2 separate regions of the Homo sapiens genome follow, and region 1 is linked to region 2. Evidence: promoter capture Hi-C in human tissues and cell types (Jung and others, 2019). All regions are on one chromosome and are shown on one strand. The core of a region is centred on a gene start or on the middle of the fragment in contact, and the rest is flanking DNA. Distances in the headings are between cores, read along the strand shown. Region 1 overlaps TANC2 (tetratricopeptide repeat, ankyrin repeat and coiled-coil containing 2). Region 2 holds the start of DCAF7 (DDB1 and CUL4 associated factor 7).

The links. Contacts are between HindIII fragments. The study calls those that stand out against the background at their distance.
Region 1: a contact is called between a fragment that was not itself captured here and the fragment with the promoter of DCAF7 in region 2, in 1 of the 25 tissues and cell types used here (dorsolateral prefrontal cortex).

Annotation. Positions count from the first base shown.
Region 1 is chr17:63,149,032-63,152,238 of GRCh38, forward strand. It overlaps TANC2 (tetratricopeptide repeat, ankyrin repeat and coiled-coil containing 2), which reads left to right. Exons shown (of 28, transcript NM_001394998.1): 5 at 2,239-2,349. Among named protein-coding and RNA genes, the nearest start is that of TANC2, 180 kb to the left of the region's middle. The HindIII fragment of the contact is 6,371 bases long and covers 1-3,207 here.
Region 2 is chr17:63,548,689-63,551,926 of GRCh38, forward strand. It overlaps DCAF7 (DDB1 and CUL4 associated factor 7), which reads left to right and starts at 1,789. Exons shown (of 7, transcript NM_005828.5): 1 at 1,789-2,127. The coding sequence starts at 1,990. It also overlaps a transcript of KCNH6 not described here. RefSeq lists enhancers at 719-1,703, 1,003-1,392, 1,833-1,912 and silencers at 2,063-2,112, 2,133-2,282. The HindIII fragment of the contact is 12,507 bases long and covers 1-3,238 here.

The sequences.
Region 1 (3,207 bases), core at 528-3,027, 400 kb before region 2:
AGAGGTGAAGAGTAGATAGAAGAAAGAATTAAATGTCTCCTGTGAGCTATAAAGATAACCTCAGTTGGAATTTCCTGAGAAGGGAAAATAAAGAAGTTGGTATACATCGAGCTTCATAGATCTAAAATAACTCTCTTTGCTGGAGAATTGTGTATTTTAGTAAGAGGTTTTATTTTTTTTCCTCTGCCAGATCTGTTTAACTTCTGATTAACACCATATAGTCCATACTCTCTTCACAGTCTTCAGCTATTTCCTTTTTTCTGTATGATCTCTAGAACCCTGATCTTTTCCCTTGACTTCATCTCATAATTCTTGTACACGCCTCATACCTCCCTTAAGTTCTCCTGCCATCCTTCACTTTTTTTCTTACATTTCTACCTTAAGTTTCTGGTCTGTCTACTAGCCCTAAATTTCATTATTTAAAAAATGTTTTTAAGATTTTAAGATATATAGAGTCCCTTGAGCAGGGACCTGTGCTGTCTTTGTCAGAACTCAGCAGGTAAAACAGTTACTCTGATGCCATGACAATGCTTTAATAAAATTCTAGTAAAGGACTTAAGAGCCTTAAGGATTAAATTACTATATAATCATTTTTCCTATACTAAGCAGTATTGAATAAATAAACTGTTTCATTATTTTTAAATCTGTTGGTGAAATTATAATGAAAGAGATTCTAATATTGGCTATTAGTAGCCTGCATATATACATATAAATCACTTGAGATCTTTATTTGTAATAATGATTTTTAAAAACAGGCTCAAGTCTCACACTCATAGCAAAGGTGAGAGTTCTGCTATTCCAAAGCTTGCTTTTGACAGAACCATACTGTTAGGACTCTTAATGTTAGGCCTTTGTTGCCATGGAGACAGTAACAGGCTTTATTATTTTTTAACATATACTGAAAATATACATACCCTAAGGTATAAAGCGTGACTTAGTTGTCTGTTGGTTTTGAGTATTGACACATTTTGAAAATAGTTTCTATATACTTTTAATACTTGATTTTTATCCTTCAAAGAAAATGAAGGAGATTTCTGACCATTGTGATAACAGAGTTGTATATTACTTTTTACAGGGTCTTTTAGGAATAACGTAGAATCTCTTGTGGGTCAGTAATGGATGAGGACTTTGAAGAACATGCAGAAACTTTTGAGAAAAGTAATGTGATCTTAGACACATGTCTTGGCCACCTATGATTATGACACTAATATATAATACAAACAAATCAATTTCAGATTCAACTAATACTTTGTGCCAGTACTGTGCTAAGCACTGTCACCCTATTATAGTTTATTTAATAGAACTCAGTTTGAAAGCACCTAAGCAATCCTCATATTTTAACTTTTACAATAACTGATTATTCGAATGTGTATCAATAGCATTCCTGAATTTTTCCTCCTAAAAATTAGTAAATAAAATGTGTACATACTTTCAATAAGTAAAACTTTCAATTCATGAGTTATACTTTATTCCTTACAAGAATGAATGGATTCCATGGCATGAGATATTAATATTCCATAGGCATCATGATTAAATTGGTAACTAAATCACATGTCTTTAGCTTCTAGTGTCAAACTAGCAGGGCCTAGTTAATGCTTTAGTCCACCAGCAGTTTTGACTTCTTACATTAATAGCTGAGAAGTAAGGTAATTGATTTTCTTGTTAAGCTACGTAGATTAGGCCTGATGGCTTATATTTAATCCTACTTATGGTGTTTATCATGACCAAGTATTAGAGTAGTTATTTCTGGATAACAAAAACCTTTTGATTACAGTTATTATAAACAAAACCTTGAAACATAGTCCTGTGCTTTCCTTAGTTAACATCTGTATTTAATGGCAAAAGAAGCCAAAGTAAGAAAGCTCTTTGCTTTATAAAGAGAGAGAAATAAGGTAACAGACAATCACAATTTATACTAATAGTTTTGAATATTAGATTTTAGCTTTTCCAGTTTTCAGTGACTTTTAACAAGACCCATCTCCTCTATGAAGAATGCAGTTAGTTTTTTTTTTTTTTTTCTGGCTCAAAAAATAGGGTAACCTGATCTGAGTCTGACAGAGTGTGTCGTTCATTTAAGTGCTTCCATCTGTTGCCTGCTGTTCCCCTTACTCATGACCCCTCTATGTTTCTCTCTTTCCCTTTTTCCTTCTCTTTCCCTGTTTCTCTCCCTTCCTTTCTCTTTCTTTCTCTCTTGCTCTCTCTGTCTCTTGCTTGCTCTCTCTCTCTTTTTGTTCTTAGCCCCTCTGAGGAAGGCAAAGTTTGTTGAGAGCCCACGAATTCCAGAATCCGAGCTTGGCTCACCAACCCTCACTTCAGCTCAGAAACTGGACGTGGATGCATACTGCCCTGGTAAGCATGCATGCAAAGTGTCTGCTTTGAAAGAGGGAGGATTGGATCAGGCCCATCCAGCAGAGCAGTGTTTTGCATGTATACTACTCATAAAAACATGTTACCTCTTTTGCAACTGATTGCCTATTCTTCTTAATAGAACATAGTTTTTACTGAATGCCCTGTTTTGACTTTGATACAATAATGAGAGTAAGTATTGAAAATAATTTCAAAGGTAATTTTCAAAAGAATTAAAATAATTTTGGTAGATAAGTAGTTTTAGGTAAGTAGGGTTACTTTTGTGATTTGAGATACTTAAAGAAATTTTGCTGTGGCCATGTGCAAACAGAAATGTTGAAGATGTGAATAAGAATATTCATTCAACACTAGACACAAAAGTGTTCTATGCAACACTTTTGCATACAACCTTTATGCCTAATTCCTGTTGGATTTCTGGTGATTATAGAAAATACTTGTGATGCTGGAAACATTAAACTTGAATTAGAAAAGAAATATAGGTTTCCGAGATGGACTCCTTTTGGATACAGATACTTACTTTTAGAAATACCTCTTGTGAATGGCCTGTAAACACATGTGAGAGTTCACTAAAACCCTTCTTGTGTGGGAGCCAAACTGAGAAAGACTCATTATCAATGCTTAGATTCTTTCAAACTTAGATGAGTTGCCTGGCAACATCCTTTACACTCTCTCTACAGTCAGTCTATAGAGCTGTGTCAGAAATGTTCACAGCTCTAGCTGAGTATACAGATTAGAGCATTAGTAAAGGAAGGACCTTGGAAGACTTGGTTTTAGGTCTTTTGTTTATTCCTGCTCATTAAAATTGATGTTAAACCACAGTGAATACAACTACTACATATT
Region 2 (3,238 bases), core at 539-3,038:
TATATCTGTGGATAAATATCATTATTTTTTATTAGAATAAGACAAGGTACCGCGAATTTTGTACGTCTTTTTCTTTCCTTTTTAAATTTGTTTTTAAACTTTCCTCCTTACAGGGGATTTCCTTTAGCTGGGCATGGTGGCGGGCGCCTGTAATCCCAGCTACTCAGGAGGCTGAAGCAAGAGAATCACTTGAACCCTAAAGGCAGAGGTTGCAGTGAGCCGAGATAGTGCCACTGCACTACAGCCCGGGCGACAGAGTGAGACTCCATCTCAAAAATAAAATAAAATTAAAAAAAAAAGAGGATTTCTTGGCCAGATGCGGTGGCTCACGCCTGTAATCCCAACACTTTGGGAGGCCGAGGCTGGAAGATCATTTGAGGTCAGGAGTTCGACACCAGAATGGCCAACATGGTGAAACCCCATCTCTACTAAAAATACAAAAATTAGCTGGCTGTGGTGGTGCACCCCTGTAATCTCAGCTACTCGGGAGGCTGAAGCAGGAGAATCACTTGAACCTGGGAGGTGGAAAAATCATTTATCATTAAAAATTATATTTAGTGCCCAGAATGGTGGCTCAAGCCTGTAATCCCAGTACTTTAGGATGCTGATGTGGGAGGATCGCTTGAGCCCAGGAGTTCGAGATCAGCCTGGGCAACATGGAGAGATCTCATCTCTACAAATAATAATTTAAAAATAGCTAGGTGTGGTGGCAAATGTCTGTGGTTCCAGCTACTCCAGAGGCTAAAGTGGGGGAATCGTTTGAACCTAGGCAGTCCAGGCTACAGTGAGCCCTTATCACACCAGTGCACTCCAGCCTGGGTGACAGGGCAAGACCCTGTCTTTAAAAAAAAAAAAAAAAAGTATTTAATGTTATCATCCAACAATTCAATACAAACCTCCTTCAATTTTGATGAAAGCTGAGAATTGGAAATAATTTATATAAAGGTGTCATTTGGTCTCTGGCCCTTCCCCTTTTCCAACTCACAGGCACAGATACCTTTGGGGCTGGATTAGCATTTGCGTTGGGATCCACGGCGGGAAGGGTACAGGATGGGAACTGACAAAAACAGAGCCAAGCTGGTCGGGTCGGTGCCTACCCCAGAATTCGGGGACATTTCTAGATCCTGCAGGAAAGCGCGGGAGGGCCTGACTCAAGCTGGCCTGGCCCTGAGCGCATCTGCGCGCCCGAAGCCTGTCCCTGAGGCACGGAGAGAGCAGCTTTCGGGTTAAAAGGGCCCTGGGAAGAGATGGGGCGGGAAGGTGGTACCCGTTGGGCGCAGGCCAGGCTGCCAGGCCGCAGGGCTCTGTCCCGCGAAAGTCAGTAGGTCTTCCACTAAGGCAGAATTGTACTTTTACTCGACAGCGTGGAGAGGCCGCTCAGAACAGCAGCAGCGGAGGGGAAGTCAGCGCAGGTCACAGACGGTTTCACTCTCAGAGACTTGGCCTAGAACTTGGAGGCCCGCTGCTACAGCACGCTCGCCTCCAGGCCACCCACGCCCCCACCACCCGCACTGAGCCGTTATCTGCCTGACTGACATCTTGGCCAACCAATGACCTTTGGGGCTGCCAAAGCGCCTGCCTCCGAGAGTTGGGCGGGGCGAGTAGTTGCAATGACAAACATTTAACCCAATAGCGAGGAGATTTCAGACGCTACGGCCGCAATAACCAATGACAAGAAAGAATCCTTTCGAAAGGACGTGTCAGGCAACCAACGGCCGGTGCCGCTGCGGGGGTCCGGCGGCTTCCGTTCCGAGAGGGCGGGGCGGCGTCCCAAAACGGAAGGTGGTTGTCGTCCGTTCCCAAGCTGGTTTGAAACTAGGGGTCGGGCTCGGCCGTCGTCGTTGTTTGTCGCCGCATCCCCGCTTCCGGGTTAGGCCGTTCCTGCCCGCCCCCTCCTCTCCTCCCTTCGGACCCATAGATCTCAGGCTCGGCTCCCCGCCCGCCGCAGCCCACTGTTGACCCGGCCCGTACTGCGGCCCCGTGGCCACCATGTCCCTGCACGGCAAACGGAAGGAGATCTACAAGTATGAAGCGCCCTGGACAGTCTACGCGATGAACTGGAGTGTGCGGCCCGATAAGCGCTTTCGCTTGGCGCTGGGCAGCTTCGTGGAGGAGTACAACAACAAGGTGGGCCGGGCAGGGGCTCGGAACCCAGCTGGCGGGGAGCGGGCCCCGGGAGCGCCCTTTCCGGGCCGGAGCCCAGGCCTCAGAACCCTCTTGCGGACTCGCCCTAGGGCCACGGAGCGGTTCCTCTGTCTGGCCCTGTGCTGAAGGTTTCGTACTCGTTGTCTGTCTCCTTTAATCCAGGCAGCATTCTTGTGTAGTCGGCAGTGTAGTGGGGAAACTGAGGCACGGTTTTGTGACTTGCCTGGGTCAGGCAGCTATTTCGGGGTGGAAACAGGTCTTAAAACCGGGTTTACGCCCCAAAGATACTCCATTTATTCATCCCGTGCTCTCCACTCCTGCCGCATTGCTTTCGTTGGTGGGCGGGGAAGGGAAGAGAGAGTGATAGCTGTGAAGGAAAATGCAGGCGCTTCTATTGGTGGTCGTGCACTCCTGGCCACACTAGATTTCTATTAAGACGATCTATTGTACAAGCTTCCCCGCCCCCTACTCCCACCCCCCCCGGGTACTCATGGATCCTAGCCCTTCTGCCAGAATTACTGTTGCTCTTGCTTCCTGATATCCATTCTCTCTAAAGCAATCTCTTTGGAAATCTTGGCCTGTGGCATGATCCCGCCGTTGTTTCCTGAACACAGAAGGATGACAGGGCCTTATCTCTTGGCTTGTTTCGTGCTAGTACAGTTGTGTGACCTTTAGTAGTAAGTCTTGCTGGACATACATCAATTTGAGAATCCTTTATAGAAGCACGGTGTAGTAGGGGAGCTTTTAAACTGGCATTGCAACAAACTCATTTTTGAAAGTTGAATAAGTCAGTTGGAAGAATTTTCTTTCTTCCTTTTACTCAAAGTTGTGAATGATAGCGATCAGAGCAACTGAAAGCTGTGGCTAGTGATATTTAAAGCCACTACTCCTGCTTTATGCCATGAACATCAGATTTAAGAAGAGTAAAACTGGCCGGGCGCGGTGGCTCACGCCTGTAATCCCAGGACTTTGGGAGGCCGAGGCGGGCGGATTACCTGAGCTCAGGAGTTCGCGACCAGCCTGGGTAACACGGTGAAACCCCGTCTCTACTAAAATACAAAAAAAAAAAAAAAAAAAAAAAAAAAAAAAAAAA